Regions from separate parts of the Homo sapiens genome. Here region 1 is linked to region 2. Evidence: promoter capture Hi-C in 16 types of primary human blood cells and fetal thymus (Javierre and others, 2016). All regions are on one chromosome and are shown on one strand. The core of a region is centred on a gene start or on the middle of the fragment in contact, and the rest is flanking DNA. Distances in the headings are between cores, read along the strand shown.

Region 1 (5,896 bases), core at 2,692-5,191, 140 kb before region 2:
GTGTGGCCTGAACCATGGTGATACAGTTCACTCCTTATTGGTGAGCCGTTATGGTTCACATGTATGGTTACCTAACCTGAAAATTTGTGGGAACTTCATCTGGAAGATAGATTAGTAGGTATAAAATGTCGCTTTAATCTTGCATTGTACTACCTTTAACCAAACCCTATCATATAGAGCTGGGTGTGAGATTAAGTTGGAGCATGCTGTAATCCAGTTCTGAATTCGGTCTTCTGAGCTATTTGTGATGTGATTCAGATTTTATAGATGGCTTTTCTTCTCTGTGGAGAGTTGGAATAGTGACTAAAAAAGAGCTCTCTGAAATTGGAACCTCTAACTATTGCTGGTAAGAATGGAAAACAGTCTGGCAGTGCCTCAAAAGGTTAAATATAGAATACTCTGTGACCCACCAAATTTACTTTTAGTTGTATATACTCAAGAGAAACGAAAATATAAGTCCACACAAAAACGTGTACATGAATGTTAATAGCAACATTCTTCATGATAGCCAAAAACTGTGCCTTAGTTCATTTTCTGCTGCTTATAACGGAATACCTGAAACTGGGAAATTCATAAAGACAAGGAATTTATTTCTTACAGTTATAGAGGCTGAGAAGTCCAAGGTCAACAGGCCACATCTTGTGAGAGCCTTCTTGCTAGTGGGGACTCCCTGCAAGAGTCCCAATGCAGTATAGGGCATCCCATGGTAAGGGGGCTGAGCATGCAAGCTCAGTTCTCTCTTCCTCTTTTCATAAAGCCACCAGTCCTACTCCCATGAACCCACTAATCCATTAATTCATGAATCTGCCCTGATGACCCAATCGCTTAAAGGCCCTACCATTCAGTACTGCCACATTGGGGATTATATTTCCACATGAACTTTAGAGGGGACAAATATTTAAACAATAGCAAAGTGGAACCAGCTCAAATGCTCATCCACTGATAAATAAATAAAATGTGGTATATCCATAGAAGAAATATTATCCATCCCTAAAAAGAAAAAATACTGATACATGCAACATTATGGATGCATCTTGAAGGCACTATACTACCTGAAAGAAGTTAGTCACAAAGACCACATATTGTATGATCCCATTTGTATGAAATGTCCAGAATATGCAAATCTATAGAGACAGAAGGTAGACTAGTGGTTACCTAGGGGTAGGGTGGATGGGAGTAATGCCATGTAAGGATGTTTCTGTGTACTGTTAAATTGTAATATCTGTTATGTGGTTAGTGTTCCCTTTATGAGGACTCATAATTCTTCACAATATCAAGAGTTACTCCCTTTTAAAGAACTAATGAGCTAGCAAGTCTTCTTTGTTTTATTTTTAATAAATTTTAAAATTAGATAATGAGACCACTGTTACTAGTGCCTCTGTTGGCTTTGGCTGCTAGGAAGTTCAGGACTATATTAAATGCTCACAGTAACGCTGTTAGTGAGGTTAGACAATTGGTATACTTTCTTTTCTAATACACATTTTGTTGTGGGTTTTTAAGTTTTTACACACAGACTTTCACAAACTTGAATTTAAATATTTTATTGTAGGATGCCCACAGTCTTTATCAGAGGCAATTGGGGTTAAATTGAAAACAAATAAATATAAAATGCACAAATGAAAAACTATAGGCAGTGTCTTTCAAGAGAGAAAGAATTCTTTCTGTATAAAAAGGCAATATTCGTTTTTAGGTAAAAAAATGATATCCTTGAACTGAGCTTTTTAAAAAAGTGGTGAGCTACTAGGCACTGGATCTGTTCAAGCAGATGCTGGATGATGCTTTGTCTGTAAGATATTATAGAGATAAAGCCTGTGCTGGATGAGGCTAAAAATTGCCTTAAAGTTCTCCTAGTCTTTAAGACTATCATTCTGTGATTTTGAAGTTTACATTTCTGACAACACAAAGTACTAAATGGTAATTTTAAAATGGGTAATTTTTATTCAGAGAACTTGTTTGAGAGCTCAGAATTCCAGATATAACACAAAAGAGGTAATTTAGTATGAAAAGATATTAAGAACAGGTACTACCAGTACATTGCCTAGAGAAACTCAGTGTAGTTATTGTTCTGAATATGTGTTTTAAATTGTGCTGCCTCTCTGCTATGATGAATTAGCTATACAGTGTACCCCTAATATTGCTAGGGCATTTAAAAATGATTTATTTAAACATTGGAGTATACCTTCCTAATACAACCGTTGTATTTTAGTTTTAATAAGTGGCTCTTCTGAACAGTTCTCAGTCAGTCCTTTTTTGGGTCTGTTCCTGGTTAGAGTTTAAAAAACAAAACACACACAAAAATAAAGTATCAGCATAAAGGAGGGGATGGGTGGGTGGGTGAATGGATAGATGGATGGATGGATGGGTAGATGGATGGATAGATAGATATTCTCCCTAAATCCCCCCTTTGCCACTGAAGAGCACCCATGTCAATGATCTAAAAATACCAGTTGGATTGTGACCAGGAGTCCTTATTTACAGTCCAGTTTTACACCATGGAGGATTGGTGTTTCATGAATCTGTTTAAGCCCATTTTTGCTGTTAATTATTATTAGGATTTAGGTTTTGCAGAACTCACTAATAGCCTAGTATCAATTTGAGATTATATCTGCTGGCCCATAATTATTATTTATTTATATTTAGTGAGTAATTGGATGCTCAGATCTGCCAGACCAGAGCAATTAGAGATGTGGGAATAACTTAATAAAATTGCATCACTGGAAAATTTAGATGGTTTCAAAATTAGTTTCTAAAAACCAGGTGGAACTCATAGAAGGCTAGAACCTTACACATGAGAGATTTTATTTCTAGAAGCCATATATAGTACAAATAGAGTACAGGCATACCTTGTTTTATTGTGCTTCACTTTATTGTACCTTGCAGGTAATGGATTTTTTACAAATTGAAGATTCGTGGCAACTCTGTGTCTAACAACTTTTTGGCACCATTTTCCCAAGAGCATGTGCTCACTTCATGTCTCTGTGTCACATTTTGATAGTTCTTGCAAACTTTTTCATTATTATTGTATCTCTTATGATGATCTGTGATCTTGATGTTACTATTGTAATAGTTTTGGAGTGCCACAAATCGAGCCCATATGAGATGGTAAACTGAATGGACAAATGTATATGTTCTCACTACTCCCCTGACTGACAATTCCTGTCTCACCTTCTTCTTGGGCCACTCCATTCCCTGAGACCCAACAATATTGAGATTAGGACAATTAATATCCCTACATTGGCCTCTGAGTGTTCCAAGTGAAGGAAATGTTGTATATCTCTCACTTCAAATAAAAAACTAGAAACGATTAAGCTTAGTGAGGAAGGCATGTTGAAAGCTGAAAAATGCTGAAAGCTATGCCACTAGTGCCACACAGTTAGCTAAGCTGTGAATGCAAAGGAAAAGTTATTGAAGGAAATTAAAAGTGCTATCCCAGTAAGCATACGAATGATATAAGAAAGCAAAACAACCTTATTGGTGATATGGAGAAAGCTTTAGTGGTGTGGATAGATTAAACCAGCCACAACATTCTCTTAAGCCAAAACTGATTTAGAGCAGAATGCTAACTGTCTGCAATTCTAGGAAGGCTGAGAGAGGTGAGGAAGCTGTGGAAGAAAAGTTAGAAACTAGCAAAGGTTGGTTCATGAGGTTTAAGGAAATAAGCCACCTTCATAACTTAAAAGTGCAATGTGAAGCATCAAATGCTGATGTAGAAGCTGCAGCAAGTTATCTAGAAGATCTAGCTAAGATCAGTGATGTAGTTGAATACACGAAACAACACATTTTCCATGTAGATTAAATAGTCTTCTATTGGCTAAAGATGCCACGTAGGAATTTCACAGCTAGAGAGGGGATGCCTGGCTTCAAAGCTTCAAAGGACAGTCTGACAGTCTGACTCTCTTGTTAAGGCCTAATGCAGCTGGTGACTTGAAGTCAGTGTCCATTTACCATTCCAAGAATCCTAGGGCCCTAGAGAATTATGCTAAGTCTGCCCTGCCTGTGCTCTATAAATGGGACAACAAAGCTTGGATGACAGTACCTCAGTGTTTATAGCATGGTTTACTGAATATTTTAAGCTCAATGTTGAGACCTACTGCTCTTTAAAAAAGTTTCTTTTCAAATTACTACTCATTGACAATGCAACTGGTCACCCAAGAGGTCTGATAGCACTGTACGTCATGCCTTCTCTATTAAGCTGTTCTTGCATTGCTGTAAATAAATACCTGAGACTGAGACTAGGTAATATATAAAGAAAAGAGGTTTAATTGGCTCATGGTTCTGCAAGCTATACAGGAAACAGTGCTGGCATCAGCTTCTTGGGGAAGTCTTAGAGAGCTTTAACTCATGACAGAAGGCAAAGCAGGAGCAGGCACATCACATAGCAAAAGCAGAAGCAAGAAAAAGAAAGAGGAGGGGTGGAGGTGCCACACACTTTTAAATGACCAGATTCTTCAGAACTCTCATGAAGACAGCACCAAGCCATGAGAGATCTGCCCCCATGATCCAGACAACTTCCACCAGGCCCCACCTCCAGCATTGAGGATTACAATTCAACATGAGATTTGGGCTGGGACAGATATACAAACTATATCACCTTCTAACACGGCATCCATCCTGCAGCCCATCAATCCAGGAGCCATCTTGATTTTCAAGTTTTATTATTTAAGAAATACATTTTATAAGGCTATGACTGCTGTAGATAGTGATTCCTCTGATGGATCTGGGAAAAGTAGATTGAAAATCTTCTGCAAAAGATTCACCATTCTGGATGCCATTAAGAACATTTGTGATTATGAGGAGAGAACAAAGTATCAACATTAACAGGAGTTTGGAAGAAGGTGATTCCAGCCCTCATGGGTAACTTTGAAGGGTTCAAGACTTGAGTGGAGGAAGTCACTGTAGATGTGACAACAGCTAGAAAACTAGAATTAGAAGTGGAACCCAAAGATGTGACTGAAATTGCTGCGTGATAAAACTTGAATGGATGAAGAGTAGCTTCTTAGGGATGAGCAAAGAGAGTGGTTCTTGAGATGGAATCTACTCTTGGTGGAAGATACTGTGAACATTGTTGAAATGACAACAAAGGATTTATAATATTACATACACTTAGTTCGTAAAACAACAGCAGGGTTTGAGAGGATTGACATCAATTTTGGAAGCAGTTCTACTGTGAGTAAAATGCTGTTAGACAACATGGCATGCTACAGATAAATCTCTCATGAAAGGTCGAGTCAGTTGAAGGGCAAACTTTACTGTCAACTTATTTTAAGAAATTGTCACCGCCACCTCAGCCTTAAGCACCCAACATGCTGATCAGTCAGCAACCATCAACATCAAGGCAAGACACTTCACCAGCAAAACGTTTAACTCAGTTAAGGCTCAGATGATATTAGCATTTTTATGAAAGTATATTTAATAAAGGTATGTACATTATTGTCTTAGACATAATGTTATTGCACACTTAATAGACAACAATATAGCGTAAACATAACTGTTATTTATTTTAGAGACAGGGCCTCACTGTTTTTTCTGGCTGGAGTGCAGTGGCATGATCATGGCTCACTGCAGCCTCAAACTTCTGTGTTCAAGCGATCCGCCCACCTCAGCCTCCCAAGTAGCAGGGGGACTACAGGCACACTCCACCATGCCTGGCTAATTTTTAGGGTTTTTTTGTAGAGACAGGATCTCACTATGTTGCCCAGACTGGTCTTGAACTCCTAGCATGAAGCAATCCTCCTGCCTCGGCCTCCCAAGCTACTGGGATTACAGGCATAAGCCGCCATGCCTGGCCTAAACATAACTTTCATATGCACTGGGAAACCAAAACATTAGTGTGACTTGCTTTATTTGCTTTACTGCAGTGGTCTGGAACCAAACCTGCAATATCTCTGAGGTACAC
Region 2 (5,658 bases), core at 2,148-4,647:
CTGCTTTCACCATGCTGCAGCCCTCTTGAATCAGCAAAGCCATTCTCTGAATGCATTGTATCCTTCCACGCGTGTTTTTGCAAGCGCTCTTTCCTCTGTCTACCATATGCTTTCCTTCATTAGCATTGTAAAAAACTTCAAAATTAAAATTACATTCTGTCTTCTTAGAGAATCCATGCTGTCACCTCCTACTTCCTATAACCTAAGTTAAACCAAGTGCTCCTCTAGGACATCCATGAGTCTAAAAGGTTTATAATACTAAGTTTTTATTATTTCCTTACCTTTGTCCTTTCTACAGGATTGTGAGCATTTTGAGGACAAGGACTGTGTTTTAATCATTGCTATTTTCCTGGTGTCTAGGACAGAGCTGAGCACAGTCAATGTTTGCAAATATCTGTTGAAAGATCAAATGAATGCATTCCTGAATGAACGACTGAAAGAGAAGTATGAGCTTGTGGTGAGCTCATTTTGGAGCCAAACGGTGCTGGGTTTAAATCCTGGCTCTCTTGAAGACTAGTATTGTGACCTAAGGGAGATTACTCTAAAGCCTCTGTTTTCTAATCTTGAAATAAGGCAAATGGAATTTACCTCAAGACAAACCATTGTCAACTTATATTGATGAACAACAGCTATAGCTACATATAACTTAGTCCTGTCACTAAATTTCTGTGAGTTATCTTGGAATGAAAAGACAAAATTAAAAGACAATGAAGCTGTATTCTTGCAGATTAATTTATTAAGAACAACAGTAAAAATATACTCATTGAATGTCTACTGGGTAGAAGACATTATGCTAGGACCTGTGGAGAAATTAAATATAAATTAATATTTGGCCTATGGAGGAGTTAAGGTATACAGTATAGGCTAAATTTTAAAATAAAGTAGGAAATGTCAGGTGCCATAAGAGAGGTATCAGATTTTAGATTAAGAGTTCGTTTGTAGCTGAGACAATGAGGAAGGCTTTTTGGGACAAGTGGTGTTTGAAAAGACCTTTCCTACAAAGGAAAGGTCAAAAGATTTTTGCTGACAGTGGAGGAAGGAAGACAGGAATGAATGCAACCATGAGGAGGTGGAGATATCTAGGAGAGAAATGTGGGCTTGGCCATCCTATTGATGTCATTGTTTCACCAGATGCTGCAGTTTCAGCTTCTGAAACCAAGGGTTAGTGACCTGCCTTTTTCACAAAGTACAATGTGCCCTGGTTTTCTGTCTGGAGCCATTGATGCTCTGCCCAGAACAAGGCCACCTGATGCCGACAGCTAAGGCAGAAATTGGCCTGTTCACACCGTAGCCCCTCAGAAGCAGCAGTTTTGTCACTCTTTTTCACAATGCCCTGAAGACACTTGGCAGAGGCTCTACTGCAGGGGTGAGGAATCACATCCCTGTGAATAGGAATGAGCAACTGGAACTGGTGTGGACACTTGGGGAATGATTAATAAATCTTATCACAGATTGTCAAATTATGTTATTTAGAATCAAACTGCTTGTGGATGAGGCAGAAGATACATACACACACTATAAAGATGGTTTTCTCTAATGACCAGTGATGATGAGCTTTTTTCCATATGTTTGTTGGCTGCATAAATGTCTTCTTTTGAGAAGTATCTGTTCATATCCTTTGCCCACTTTTTGATGGGGTTGTTTTCTTCTTGTAAATTTGTTTAAGTTGCTTGTACATTCTGGATATTAGACCTTTGTCAGATGGATAGATTGCAAAAATTTTCTCCCATTCTGTAGGTTGCCTGTTCACTCCAAATGCCCATCAATGATAGAATGGATAAAGAAAATGTGGCACACATACACCATAGAATACTATGCAGCCATAAAAAAGGATGAGTTTGTGTCCTTTGCAGGGACATGGATGAAGCTGGAAACCACCATTCTCAGCAAACTAACACAGGAACAGAAAACCAAATGAGCATGTTCTCACTCATAAGTGGGAGTTGAACAGTGAGAACACATGGACACAGGGAGGGGAACATCATACACCGGGGCCTGTCGGGGGTGGGCGGCAAGGAGAGGAAGAGCATTAGGACAAATACCTAATGCAAGCGGGGCTTAAAACCTAGATGACAAGTTGATAAATGCAGCAAACCACGCTGGCACATGTATACCTATGTAACAAATCTGTACATTCTGCACATGTATCCCAGAACTTAAAATTAAAAAAAAGAAGAAGAAGAAAAATGGTGTTCAAAATATTTCATTTTACAAGTGGTAATGAAACTGAGCTTTTAAAAAAAAATCAGTGATGAGATGTCATTTCCAGGAATCCTCTTTTGGCACCACCAGCTTGAGTTCATCACACTGCCACCAGCCTGCATGGGTGCTGCATTTCCCCTGCTGCTGTATAATGGTGGTTAAACTATGGTTCTGGGGCACCAGGCTTCCTGACCTTGAAGGCAAGCTCCTCTATTGACTAGCATATGACCTTGGGCAGTTCCTTTAACCTTCCTAAGTTACAGTTTCTCATCAGTAAAATGGAAATGGTGGCAATACCTGTCTAATATGGCATATGGAGAGTAGTAAAAGAAATGACTAGTGCAGTAAAGAACATCTCAGTGCCTGCCACACAGCAAGTGCTTTCTCTCCAGATACCAGCGTGACTTCTTTCTGTCTCATCTCCTTTAGATCTTTACTCCACTGTGAAGCCATCTTTGACCATCCCATTTAAAAATGCACCCCCTACCTCCAAACATTATCCCATTTCCTCCCTTCTTTTTTGTCCACCGCACTTCATCACTATCTCACATACTATGTATTTTAGTTATTTGTTATGTTTATGCCTGTCTCTTTAGTAGAATGCAAGCACCAAGCACCTGTATTCCCAGATCAATGCCTGGCATGCAATAAGGACTCAAGGGAGGAAGAGATGAGCCAGCCCTGCTATGCTGAAACTACTCCCGGCCCAGTGCTAGCCCTTTGGGACCCCGTTTGAACGTCTGACTGCCCTTTGACACCTGGACCAGTGGGCAGGAAGAGAAACTAAAATCGAGGTAGTAATTTAAGCAGCACATTATGGGGGGGCTCTGGCCTTACTGAACTTGAACTCAATGCTGCCGATTTTTCATAAGCCTTGATTCATGATACCCCACTCCCTCTTGCTCAGCTAATGAGCTCCTCCTGTTACCCAAAGTTGACCCGAGGGACCCACTGCAGAGCCCGGGATGGCAAAGAATTCTCTGACTCAGGCTCTGACCCGGACTCGGAGGGGCAAAGTGAGCAGGAAAGGGATCTGCAAAGCTCACCTCCTCTTGGCCAAGGCGGCCTCGCGCTGGGGAGGCGGCTCTCGCGCTGGGGAGGCGGCTCCCGCGCTGCAGCCCTGCTCCGGCGCCCCGCGCCGCCTCCGCTGCGGGTCGGGAGCGCGCGTCTCCGCCGCACCTCGGATCTAGGAGCTACTCGCCCGGCCCTGGGCGGTGGGAGGCGGCGGCGGCGGCGGCGCTCGCGCACCTCGGAGGAGCCAGGAGCCGGAACCAGGGCCGAGCCCGCGGGCCGGGGCTAGCCAGCCGGTAACCACGGGCGGGACAGGGCGCCCAGGGCGGAGCAAAGCCCGGGCGCTGGGTGCGGGGCGCGTGCAGCTTTGGTCAAGGCAGGGCTTGCTTGGGTTTGGGGGCAGTCTTTAGTTTAGAGGGGCTAGAGAATGGGGTGGGAGGAGGAGAATTGGGGTGTGAGGACGCCCACGGGAAGAGTGTGGACCCCGTGGAGAGCACCAAGTTTAAAACCTTCCCGGCAGCCCGCTGATGTGCGTGTGGACGCCGCTGGGCGTCCGAAAAGCCTGGAAGCGGCGGCGCTCGGGGCTTGGGTGGGCTTCCTCCCCTCCGCTGGGCCCCAGCGGCCGAGGCACACCCTTTCCCGCTGGTGAGAAAACTTTCCTTGCTGCGGCCCTCCTGCCGCCTTGGTGCCCTGCAACTGAGAGAGCCCCCCTGGGCTGGGGAAATGTGCTGGCTCCTGGCCCCGGGCGCGCCTCCATGCACTGGGCAGGGTTCTCAGATGATGCCTGGCTTGACAGTTGCTCATTCATTTTGTTTGGACTGGGGAGCCTGCTCGCAGGTCGTGTTACTGATTAGAGGGAAATAGGGGTTTTACACTTTCCCCGCCGCCCCACCCCGCAACCCGCCCCCGCTCCCCCCGCCCGCCCCGCGCCCCGTGCCCCGTGCCTTTCCCATCCTTTCTGTGTAATTAATTGAGGAAGGCAAAGAGTAGTCTCTGCAGAAACCTGTTTGGAGGCGTTGTGGTTTCCACAGCATGTTAGATGGCACAGAATCTCAGCCACTACTCTGCATTTAGTTTGACAACAGTGAAACACTCTGGTGTTTTGAAGGCAAAGGAAGCTTGAGGGAATGTGTCCAGGGAGACGAGAGAAGGGAACTCTTATGCATAAATTAATTCTTACGAAAACCCCAAAAGTAAACAGTAGTATTTTCAGTTTGCAGGTAGAGAAAATTAGATTGCGATATTAAATACGTTTTCCAAGGTGACTGCCCCAGTTAAGTAATAGTGGGGAGTAGGGGTCTGGAAGCTAGGACTGTGAGTCTAGTTTCCTTTAGGTACATTGCATGGGGTACACAGACAAGAACAGGTGCAGGAGAGTGACGAGGGCCTGCAAGGATAAGGTCAGGAAAGCCAGAGGCCACTGTGAGCTGGGGTACCCACAAGGAGTTTCGTTCTTATGAGGAAGATCATCCAGTGTTTATGGAAGAATAGATAATATTAACAGGTGATAGGAAAAGGAAGAGTTGCTTCCAGTCTGTATCTTTCTTTTCAAAGTGAGGCCAGCCTAAACCCTTTAAAGAGGGTCTCGAAGCCCGAAACTGGACTGGATTGTTCAAAACCCAAATGGCAGACGTCCTAGAGTAGTGAAAGCGGTTACAGTCATCTTTGTGCAGGTATGAGAGATGAGAATGGACCCAGGAGACTTTTTAAAAGAGGGAAACATTGAATCCTGGCAACATTCTAGAACAAATTCTTTAAGATAGCTCAAAACTACCTAGGGAAGCATTTACAAATACTTACGCCAAACCAACTCCCTTCCCTTTTCTAGCAATCTACTGGGATATAGATCAGGGTATGCTGTATCCATTGTCTTCAAATGTGGGCTGTGACTCATTAGGCTAATGATCAGTTTAGTGAGTTGCAAATAGCAGTTTTTAAAACATGAAAGCCAAGAGAAAGAAAGATAAGATATCAGAGTGCATTGCAGGAGCAAGGGAAAGTACTGTTTTGTGAAGCGCGCGCTGGTGATGCATGTGTCCTGTTCTGTGTTGCTGATCCTGCTGCCTCTGCGTGAGTGTTCATACCCATCGCTAGCTGCCCCCTTTCAGCCTTCTGAGCTAGCCCCATTCTGGTCACAGTGGGGGTCATCTTCTTTTACCTTGCAGATTATGTCATCAACATATTCTGGAAAGCTGTTCGCTTCCTCCTCCCCATTTCTGTTGGCCCCCAGATGCTGAGGTATTTTGCCAATCAGAATTCATCTCTGAATTATTTATCTGTGACCTTTTTTGATAGTCACAGTTCATAGATAACTTTTATCAAACATATTAAATTAGTTCAAATTGTATAAAGAGAATATCACATCTGTCCTTTTTAGCTTTCAAGGGAAATGTTTTCATTACTTGGAGTACAAAAAATATTGGAAGAACAATATTCTTATGATGT

Evidence for each region. The method cuts DNA at HindIII sites, captures the fragments that hold promoters and counts their contacts. A CHiCAGO score of 5 or more calls a contact.
Region 1: a contact is called between a fragment that was not itself captured here and the fragment with the promoter of MRAP2 in region 2, in 1 of 17 cell types (erythroblasts). The highest score is 5.1, in erythroblasts.

The regions. Positions count from the first base shown.
Region 1 is chr6:83,885,459-83,891,354 of GRCh38, forward strand. The region is part of intron 4 of RIPPLY2-CYB5R4 (RIPPLY2-CYB5R4 readthrough); the gene reads left to right. The region is part of intron 2 of CYB5R4 (cytochrome b5 reductase 4); the gene reads left to right. Among named protein-coding and RNA genes, the nearest start is that of CYB5R4, 29 kb to the left of the region's middle. The HindIII fragment of the contact is 155 bases long and covers 3,865-4,019 here.
Region 2 is chr6:84,030,375-84,036,032 of GRCh38, forward strand. It overlaps MRAP2 (melanocortin 2 receptor accessory protein 2), which reads left to right and starts at 3,398. Exons shown (of 4, transcript NM_138409.4): 1 at 3,398-3,509. The HindIII fragment of the contact is 7,640 bases long and covers 1-4,329 here.